Regions from separate parts of the Homo sapiens genome. Here region 2 is linked to region 1. The links are contacts of gene promoters, found by promoter capture Hi-C in blood cells and fetal thymus (Javierre and others, 2016). All regions are on one chromosome and are shown on one strand. Each heading gives the region's core, a stretch centred on a gene start or on the middle of the fragment in contact. The rest is flanking DNA. Distances are from core to core; before and after follow the strand shown. Region 1 holds the start of NUP88 (nucleoporin 88). Region 2 overlaps KIAA0753.

What was found. Contacts are between HindIII fragments. The CHiCAGO score rates a contact against its expected background, and 5 or more counts as called.
Region 2: a contact is called between a fragment that was not itself captured here and the fragment with the promoter of NUP88 in region 1, in 2 of 17 cell types (M0 macrophages and M2 macrophages). The highest score is 8.2, in M0 macrophages.

Annotation. Positions count from the first base shown.
Region 1 is chr17:5,417,185-5,422,188 of GRCh38, reverse strand. NUP88 (nucleoporin 88) reads left to right here and starts at 2,527. Exons shown (of 17, transcript NM_002532.6): 1 at 2,527-2,835. The coding sequence starts at 2,539. It overlaps RPAIN (RPA interacting protein), which reads right to left and starts at 2,007. Exons shown (of 7, transcript NM_001033002.4): 1 at 1,898-2,007; 2 at 723-893. The coding sequence starts at 1,978. RefSeq lists enhancers at 1,736-1,955, 1,966-2,085, 1,815-2,352, 2,353-2,890, 2,526-3,165. The HindIII fragment of the contact is 9,370 bases long and covers 1-4,930 here.
Region 2 is chr17:6,625,310-6,630,313 of GRCh38, reverse strand. KIAA0753 reads left to right here. Exons shown (of 19, transcript NM_014804.3): 3 at 1,573-2,197. Among named protein-coding and RNA genes, the nearest start is that of KIAA0753, 13 kb to the left of the region's middle. The HindIII fragment of the contact is 4,167 bases long and covers 1,303-5,004 here.

The sequences.
Region 1 (5,004 bases), core at 1,278-3,777:
ACCAGGATTTGAATTCTGGAACTCCTGACTTCGAATCCAGTGTTCTTCCTGATACACTATAAATGGTTTTCCCTTCCACACATGGCTGCCAACGTTGGCTGAGATTAGAATCGGAAAGTTTCTGGAGACCTTTTTAGAAAGAGATTCCTGACGTGGGCAGATCACTAGAGGTCAGGCGTTCAAGACCAGCCTGGCCAACATGGTGAAACCCCATCCCTGCTAAAACAGAAACAAAATTAGCCGGGCATGGTGGCACACATCTGTAATCCCAGCTACTTGGGAGGCTGAGACAGGAGAATCGTTTGAACCCAGGAGGTGGAGGTTGCAGTGAGCCGAGATCTTGCCACTGCACTCCAGCCTGGGCGACAGAGCAAGACAGAAAAAAAAAAAGAGCGAGAGAGAGGGAGAGAAAGAGATTCCTAGCCTATGCCTACTGAATCATAATTTCCAAGGGTGGAGGCAAGAAATGAAATTTCTTTCTTTTTAGTTTCATAAATGATGATGTTGCAGTGATGAGCAGGTCTACGGTCTGGTATTTCAGACCATTTCATCTAGACAAGTCTAACATTAAGTGTAGAAAAGCCTGGGTTAAAGGCTGTTGAATTCTAAATGGGGTTAGGGGAATGGTGGGTTTAGAGGACTCAAGTAAACAAATAAAAGAGGACACGAGCCGTTCTTGGTGGTGCAGTCCCCCTCCCTGAAAACACATAGCCCAGCCTGACCTGAGCCAAGTCTTCTGGACAATTCTCCACTGACTGCAAAGCATTCCACTCTTCTTCCATCACCTCTTGAACTAGAAAGCTGTTCTGAGAATTCCCTGGCCCACTGCTTCCAGCCTGGCGGTACCTGTTTAGGAGCCTGTCCCGGCTGTTTCTCATTCTCTCCAGGCATCTCTGGGAAAAAAGAGCAAGATTGGGGGGGAAAAAAAAAGCATTTCTATTTTTAAAAAACACTCTTACATTAGTTGAGAAAACATTAAAGAAAGTTTATAGACACAAAATTTCAATGATAATACTAACTAGTGTTACTTTTGCATATTCCTCTGTAGAGATACATAAAATTACAATGCTTTGTACACGTATTTACAAAGAACCATATTTTTTATTCTAGCTTGCCAGTTTCCTTAATGGTTGTGTGCATAATATCTCAGCATCCAATGTCCTATTACAGAACATTTATATTCCTTCCAAATTCTTGCTACTCTAGATATGGCTGGGTAACGGCCTTCCTGCACAGCAGCGTTTCTGAACTCAGGGAGGTTTTGTCCCCCAAGGAACATTTGGCAATGCTTGGAGACATTTCTGGTTGTCACAATTCTAGTTATAGGACTATTAGCATCTAGTGGGTGGAGGCCCGAGACGTGGCTTAAACAACCCTCCACAACATATAAATATCTCCCTCAAAATGTCCATTGTCAAGGCTGAGAAACTCTGCTGTATCTGCTATCTTTCTTGCGTCGGGTTACTTTCTTGGACATTACTTACTAATAACCACACTGTGTTCAGAAGAGGCCAGAACTGAGGTGGAGCCCTCTTCTAAGCCTCATTTTACTACTCTCTAGAATAGAAATCATCTCTATCTCACAAGACGAACGTAGACAAAGTGCCTCTCTCGGTGGCCACCTCCGCAGCAACAGTAGGTAGTGTTATTGCAGAGGTGCAAACGGTGATGTCCTGACCACAATTTAAATTCAAAACAAAATCGAATCCAAAAACAAGGCTTTCTAGGACTTGACCGACCCGGGCTAATCCCACACTCTACAGTCAGCAGGCCTGGGTTTGACCAGACCAGGCGCGCTGCGGCACCTGCTCCACGGAGCAGGGCTAAGGCGAAGGCAGGGAAGACGGCGGTCACCGGGACGATCTAGGGTAGACCACTGCACAAACCCCATACCCACCTGCCGGAAAGCCTCTTTCCAAGGCGGCGAGCCCACCAGTTTGTACAGGGAGCGGCGCGGAGACCTCAACGACTCCGCCATCTCCTCTTCGCGGGAGACAAAGCCACAAGACCCGTTCCCTGGAGGCGCGCACAGACCCCTGGGAGGTGTACTTTCCGGGTGCAGACCGCGAATGGATCGCAGCGTATTCTGGGAAGTGTTGTTTTATCGACCGGCCCCACGTGGAGACAGATTTAGGCATCCAAGCGAAATGCGTGAGGCCAGCCCGACCTGCACTGAGGGAGGTAAGTCTTGAGGGAAAGTTCTGGATGCCTGGGTTTACCCAGATGGAGGTGTCCAATAGGCAATTAGATACACAAGTCTCAGGCTCTCCCCAGGTGCTAGATTTCCAGCAGCACCACCATTATGTTGACTTCTCGTCCCGCCCCCTTGGGCTTCAGAAATAATGGTGATTGGCTTTCCCTTGGTGACGCCCCTGCTTGGTGGGCTGGCCTCGCCTTCGCCCCCCGACCTGGCACGAGCCTCTCGAGCTTCCGGGCCGTCTGCTCGGTGATTGGCCGAAACAGTGAGTGGACGGCCGCGGATTGGCTGTGCTCAGCGGCGGGCTGAGCAACTGGAGTGAGGGGAGCAGTTGGGCCAAGATGGCGGCCGCCGAGGGACCGGTGGGCGACGGCGAGCTGTGGCAGACCTGGCTTCCTAACCACGTCGTGTTCTTGCGGCTCCGGGAGGGACTGAAAAACCAGAGTCCAACCGAAGCTGAGAAACCAGCTTCTTCGTCGTTGCCTTCGTCGCCGCCGCCGCAGTTGCTGACGAGAAACGTGGTCTTTGGCCTCGGCGGAGAGCTTTTCCTGTGGGACGGAGAAGACAGCTCCTTCTTAGTCGTTCGCCTTCGGGGCCCCAGCGGCGGCGGCGAAGAGCCCGCCCTGTCCCAGTACCAGGTAATGCCAGGCCGATCTTGGAAGTGACCCTCACCGGGATCGGAACCAGTCTTTTTTGTTCCTTGCTCCTCTTGGCTGTTTTTCATCTTGTGGCAGGCGTTCCAGCGGATTGACTCCGACGCTGCCATACGCGGTCGCGGGGACTCAGGCTCTCTCGATGCTTACGGCCTGGAGGCCTGGGAGGAAGGAAAGGGTCATTGAATATTCAATAAAAATACTAGTGACGGATGAGTGCTCTGGAGAAAAACAAAGCGGGCTAAAGGGGTTGAGAACGAGTGGGCGGAGTTGCTATTTTTAGTTTCGTCGAGAGAAACCTGTTTCCTGATGTGACGCTTATAATAGGTTAGATCGTAACTTTCTCTTGCGTTGTGCACAGCAAGTCAGGTTGCAGGTTTCAAAGCACCACGCTTCATGCTTGACATGGAGGAGGAAGTCTCTGTTAATTCTTACCCCCGTAACGCCCGCTTTAGAAAATAAAGCCATACCCAAAATGGGGATTTTTGTTTTTGATTAGCCGACAGCATGTGAAAATGGGTGTGATCCAGAAAGTATTACACACTTGCCGTGGTCAAATATTGGTTTATGGAAATGTTTATTTGTAATACACAGATTCTCTTAAAGATGAAAAAGAGCTTGGTACTCATTCTAAGGTATGACATCTGTTGTGTGCCCGGTCCAATTCTTGTTACCGAGAAGTGATTTAATTTTAATAAGACGCTAGCAATGCTTCTGCAGTTTTGAAAATAGGGCAGGAGTCTACAGTCTACTTATTTACCCAATTTCAGTTAAAAAGAATTATGAAGGCCGGGCGCGGTGGCTCACGCCTGCAGTCCCAACACTGGGAGGCAGAGGCAGGTGGATCACCTGAAGTCAGGAATTCGAGACCAGCCTGGCCAACATGGTGAAACCCCGTCTCTACTAAAAATACAAAAATTAGCCAGGTGTAGTGGCGCGCCCTTGTAATCCCAGCTACTCAGGTGCCTGAGGCAGGAGAATCGCTTGAACCTGGGAGGAGGAGGTTGCAGTGAGCTGAGATCACGCCCCTGCACTACAGCCTGGGCAACAGAGCAAGACTGTGTCTCAAAAAATAATAATAATTACCAAATGTGCAGCACGCAGTATTCTAATAACATTCTATACTGCTGTGTAGCATTTGACATAATCATAACTTAATTATTTATAATTATTTTGTGTCTTTTTTTTTTTTTTGAGATGGAGTTTCGCTCTTGTTGCCCAGGCTGGAGTGCAATGGCGCCATCTCGGCTCACCGCAACCTCCACCTTCCAGTTTCAAGCGATTCTTCTGCCTCAGCCCCCCCCGCGAGTAGCTGGGATTACAGGTATCTGCCACCACGCCCGACTAATTTTTGTGTTTTTAGTAGAGACGGGGTTTCGCCATGTTGGCCAGGCTGGTCTTGAACTCCTGACCTCGTGATCTGCTGGCTTTGGCCTCCCAAAGTGTTGGGATTACAGGCGTGAGCCACTGCGCCCGGCTGTTTTTGTTTTGTTTTGTTTTGAGGCAGGATCTCGCTCTGTTGCCCAGGCTGGAGTGCAGTGGTGCAATCTCAGCTAACTGCAACCTCCACCTCATGGATTCAAGCGATTCTCCTGCCTCAGCCTCTTGAGTAGTTGGGATTACAGGCCCACTCCACCGTACCCGGCTACTTTTTGTATTTTTAGTGGAGACGGGGTTTCACCATGTTAACCAGGCTGATCTGGAACTCCTGGCCTCAGGTGATCCACCCGTCTTGGCCTCCCAAAGTGCTGGCATTTCAGCCGTGAGCCATGGCACTCTGCCTCTGTCTTCTTTTCTAGACTGTAAGCTCCAAGGCAGGGGCTGGGTCTGCCCTTGTCATTTTTTAAAAACGTATTTTATTTTTTATTTTTGAAATGGGGTCTTTCTCTGTTGCCCAGGCTGGAGTGCAGTGGTGTGATCACGGCTCATTGGAGCCTCTACTGTCAGGGGTCGAGTGATCCTCCCACCTCAGCGCCTGGAAGTAGCTGGGACTACAGGCATGTGCCACCACGCCTGGCTATTTACTTATTTTTGTATGTCCAGCATACAGAAATGCTGGAGTGCCCAGAATTTATAAGCTTTCAGTAAATATTGGTGACTATCTCAATAACCTTCACTCCTCCAAAATCTCAAAACCTTAGAGATGGGGAAGAA
Region 2 (5,004 bases), core at 2,137-4,636, 1.2 Mb before region 1:
TAAATTTTTGCTAATCGGTTGGGTAAGAGATGGTATTTCCATGTATTTTTAATTTGTGTTATGAGATTGAACATCTTTTTATGTACTTAAGGACCTCTTTTTTGGTAAATTGGTCATATGTTTTTCCCTGTTTTTATTCAGTTTTGATCTTTTTATACTTCAATAATTATTATTATAATTATTATTATTATTTAGACAGTGTCTTCCTCTGTCACCCAAGCTTGAGTGCAGTGGCTTAGTCTCAGCTCGCTGCAACCTCCACCTCCCAGGCTCAAGCGATTCTTGTGTCTCAGCCTCCTGAGTAGCTGGGATTACAGGCATGTGCCATCACGCCTACCTAATTTTTATATGTTTTTTAGTAGAGATGGGGTTTTGCCATGTTGGCCAAGCTGGTCTCAAACTCCTGACCTCAAATGACAAACACCGTTCATCAGTCTGTGTATCTTTCAGATGGTACCTATTTGTTTTTTCTTTAGTGAGCTTTCTAACTACTTTTTAAAAATCCGAAATACTTCCCTGAAGTTTTGTCACAATTGATTATTTTTAAGTGACTCTTGATGCCTGTAATTATATAAACACATTGATTGTGAGAGCAGGGGAGGCCATCTCCAAGGTCACGGCATCACAGGACTGGGTTCATTGAATTTGTAGGCATGGATTCTCCTCAGGCTATTGACCGGTCTTTGACAGGTTCATTCTGGTAGGCCTAAGGAGGGTACATATTTAAAGCCATAAAATCGTTTCTTTCCTTTAACCTGATAATCCCAGAACAGATCATTTATCCTAAGGAAATAATTTTAAAAGGTTAAAAAACTAAATGCATGGAGACATTAATTGAGGTAATATTTCTATTAGTGGAAAAACTGGAACAATCTAAATGTTTAATATTAACATTATAGTTAGGCATGAAAAGACCATTCATTGGATTTTGGAAAATGCAACAATGATAAATAAAAGCTGTAGGGATATAGAAACATGTTTATGTTTAAGTGCAAAACGAAACAAAACTTGTATTTATTATGAGGAAAACTGACAAAAACTTGAGCCTGTGTAAGAAAGCATAAGCGGACTGTTTCAAGTGAGATACACTTAGGGGCAGGGTAAAAGATGGATCCAGCCACCAAATGAAGTCTCAGGAAGACCTGAAGAAGTACTATCAGATGGCTTGGATCTATCCGTGGAGCAAATTTTAAGAAAGCTTCAATGGGTTATATTGGTCACTTGCTGGGGCCTGACATTTTGAAATAGGACAGAAGTCCATAACTGGGAAATTGAAGGACTTAGTGGTTGCTGCTTGAAGCTTTCTGGGTTTACTTTTAGAGATGGTTCCCAGTATGACATTAGTAAACAGAAGGATAATAGTATGGGACTGGATGATTATAGGATAGAACCAGGGGTATGTGATGAACCCAAGGGTGTAGGAGCGTGGCTGTGTCTATCAGTAAAACAGAAAAATGCCTCTTAGCACTAATGATCTGGTGGCAAAATTTTAGAAATTTGATTATAGACATATACCAACTGTGCAATATGAAATTTTTCTGATGTCTGCTTACTTTTATTTGCTTTTTAAAGAACCAGCTGCAGTTTAATAGGAATGTTCCTACACATTCAAGCAACTTGGCGATCCGATATTCTTGCCCACATGCCATTAGAATTGAAAAACTGAAGCACTCATACAATGAATCATACCATTGTAAAGATGCAGATTGTAGAGTTGGTCCTGACCTGGGCAGTTCTGTTTCATTTTCCGTCATATCCCAAGAGAGACTTAGCTATGCTGTCCACCTAGCCAGAAGAGATGTGAAACGAAGACAATTTGAAAAACATATAAAAGAACATCATCTCAGAAGTCAGCCTCAAAGCTCTCAGAAGTGTGGACATACTAAGTATAAAATACCCGACCACAGGGTGGAAAGGAAGGAATCAAAGAGTCAAGCAGCCTGTCAGTGTAGCCACCAGCCATCCAAAGTAGAAATCTCCAGCTCTGGTGCCAAAGTATACCTTTACTCATCTCATCCAGGCCAGTCAGATCTTACTGTGCCAAATTCGCCACCCACCCATGATCCGGGACTTCAGCCTCATCCCAGGATAGGTGACCACAAAAACATAAGTGAACAGAAAAGCCTGCTAGAAGTCCAGCGACTCCAGAAAGAACTGAGCAGTTGTATCCACAAAATTGAAGAGGTAACTAAAAAAGGTGAGAAAAATTAGATTCTTTACTTCGACCTAAGGCTGTGATTATGGGGTAGTTTAAATGCATTCCTTGAGGACCCTCAACCCCTATAGCAATTTCATTCTTTCCTTCTGTGAGTTGGTTCACTGGAGTGTGAGTACTCAGGACAAGACAGTTAGGCTTGGAGTTTGAACAGTGTCTTGCCCCAGCTCCTCTTTCCAGCGGAGGGACATGAAAGAACTTCTTCACTGTGGCTGCCCTTCAAATGTCCACTGACTGAGGGCCCAGCCTACGAGGTGGCATTAATGTTGGCTGAACCTTAGGTCTTCTGGGACCTGAGTGCAAATTATCCTATAATGTTTTCCCTCTTCTGGGAAAATTATTTTTCAATTTGCTTGAAAAGAGAGCATAATGTATTTATATTATAGGTAAAACCAGTTCTCACTTGGGCAGTATTTAGGTGAGTACACACCAGTGACAAGGGAAGTTGTGGGTATATGTGTAAAGTGAGCACAGGGTAGGAAGGAAGGAATTTAATCATCATATATGGTTTTCTACAGTTCTGCAGTGTTCTCAGGGCCCTTGTATTTCCCTGCTGAGTAGAAGACTGGTTCCACGTGGAGAATTTGGGGTTACCGTAACTAACAAGTAGGGAACCAAGCCCAGCTTTCAGATTGCAAGGGGTATGGAGTTGAGCATCAAAAGAAACCGTTGCACTAGGGTAGTACATAGTCTAGAATTATTTTTTGCATTTTCAATTTAATTAATATATGCATATGTACCTATATGCATCTTATGAAAGAATTTAAGGTACCTTAAGAAATACCTGTGATTGAATAAGATAAAACAAAAATGCACATGAGGATATTGTGGCAAAGGAAACAATAAGGAAAGGAAAAACATTTACTAGGGATGAGTCACAGATTTGCTTCTGAGCTTCCTAGGAGCCAGCTAAAGAGGGAACGTCAAATCACTTGGAGAATTTACAAAGTCTAAGACAGAAAAAAACAATTGTGTAAGGAAAACAATTATTCCACATATTAAGGCCAGAAAGAAATTTCTCCTGTAGGTCTTCTTAAAGAGTGTGTTGTATAATATCATGAACAATTCAAAACCATTCCAGCATAAAAATAACAGAAATGTTGTGGCTTGTTTCTCTTGATATTCCTTAGTGTCAGCCTGTGGCATGGACCCCTACCTACTTTGATTGGAAGCCCTGCGACCAGGGGAACAAAGCCACAAGGCCCACTGCTCTGGTGATCTGGCCTAATACCGGGGAACTGTTAGAACAGAGCTTTCAAAGTCTCTGTGGGGAAGGACTGGGTTGGTTTATTTTATTTACATGAATTTTCAATGTGTCATAAGTCAATACTTTGTGAACTATAATAAAAATGTCACAGTAGCGGCAAACTGCTATGGAAACACGTAAACATATACTTTAAATTTCTGTACTTACCTTTCATGGATTAATAATATTTTGCGATGGCCCCTGGCTGCAGACCCCCTTTGAAGTAGCCCCGAAGGCCCATTTGTGCTTCCCAGTGCTGCTCTGTAGACAGCTGCAGGCGCTGCATGGGAATCATCTGCAGTGAGCCTTCAAACCCCCCACCTAAGCCCGTTCCATTTATGTTCATAGAAGTATGTGAATCCGGATTTTCCCCTACCATGCAGCCCAAACGAGATGAAAGTAATTAGACATATAGGGTCTCTTGAGACTGCATCTGTATCTACAACTCCTGACTTCAGATTTTTGCTTTCTTCAAAACAGCCTTATACTCTTTGCATTGTTTGATGTTTTAAAGAGTAAATATTAAAAATTTGAACTTATAAAATACACTTTTACTAATTGAAGACTCCCTTTTCTTTGATAATTGGAGTATATTGGAGTTTCGTATAAGAATTTGTTTGTATAAGTGTATTTGAAAACCACAGCCTGGAAGGAATAGATAGATTGCATCTTCTTCAAACAGTTTTCCAGAAACAATTTCTTTGAACCAATCTTTTCAAGATATAGAGTACCAGTGTGTACAAGGGTATGCTTCCTGAGAAATACATGAAGACTCTAGACACTCAAATAATTTTGAGACTTGCTATCTTAATATGTTAGAGAAAAGACTTGTCTTTTGAAATCAAGATTAAGGCTGGGCATGGTGGCTCACACCTGTAATCCTAGCACTTTTGGAGGCTGAGGCAGGTGCATCACTTGAGGCCAGGAGTTTGAGACCAGCCTGGCCAACAGGCCAAAACCTTGTCTCTACTAAAGATACAAAAATTAGTTGAGTGTGGTGGTGTGGACCTGTAATCCCAGCTACTCAGGAGGCTGAGGCAGGAGAATCACTTGACCCGGGAGGTGGAGGTTGCTGTGTGAGACTGGTGACAGTGTGAGACTCTGCCTCAGAAAGAAAAAGAAAAAAATGTTTACAATAAGATGCTATCTTAATGTCTCTCTCTCTTTTTTTTAATTCTTCTCTTTTTTAAGACAGTCTCATTTTGTCACCCAGGCTGGAGTGTAGTGGTGCGATCTCAGCTCACTGCAACCTCCGCCTCCTGGGTTCAAGCAGTTCTCCTGCCTCAGCCTCCCGAGTAGCTGGGATTACAGGTGCACACCACCACGCCTGGCTAATTTTTGTATTTTTAGTAGAGACAGGGTTTTGCCATGTTGGCCGGGCTGGCCTTGAAATTCTGACCTCAGGTGATCCGCCCATCTCAGCCTCCCAAAGTGCTGGGATTATAGGGGTGAGCCACCACTCCTGGCCAGGATTTCTCTTTTGAATTCAACATTTGATTATTCTCTATTAAACAGCAAAGACTAAAGACCATGTTAAGTGTCT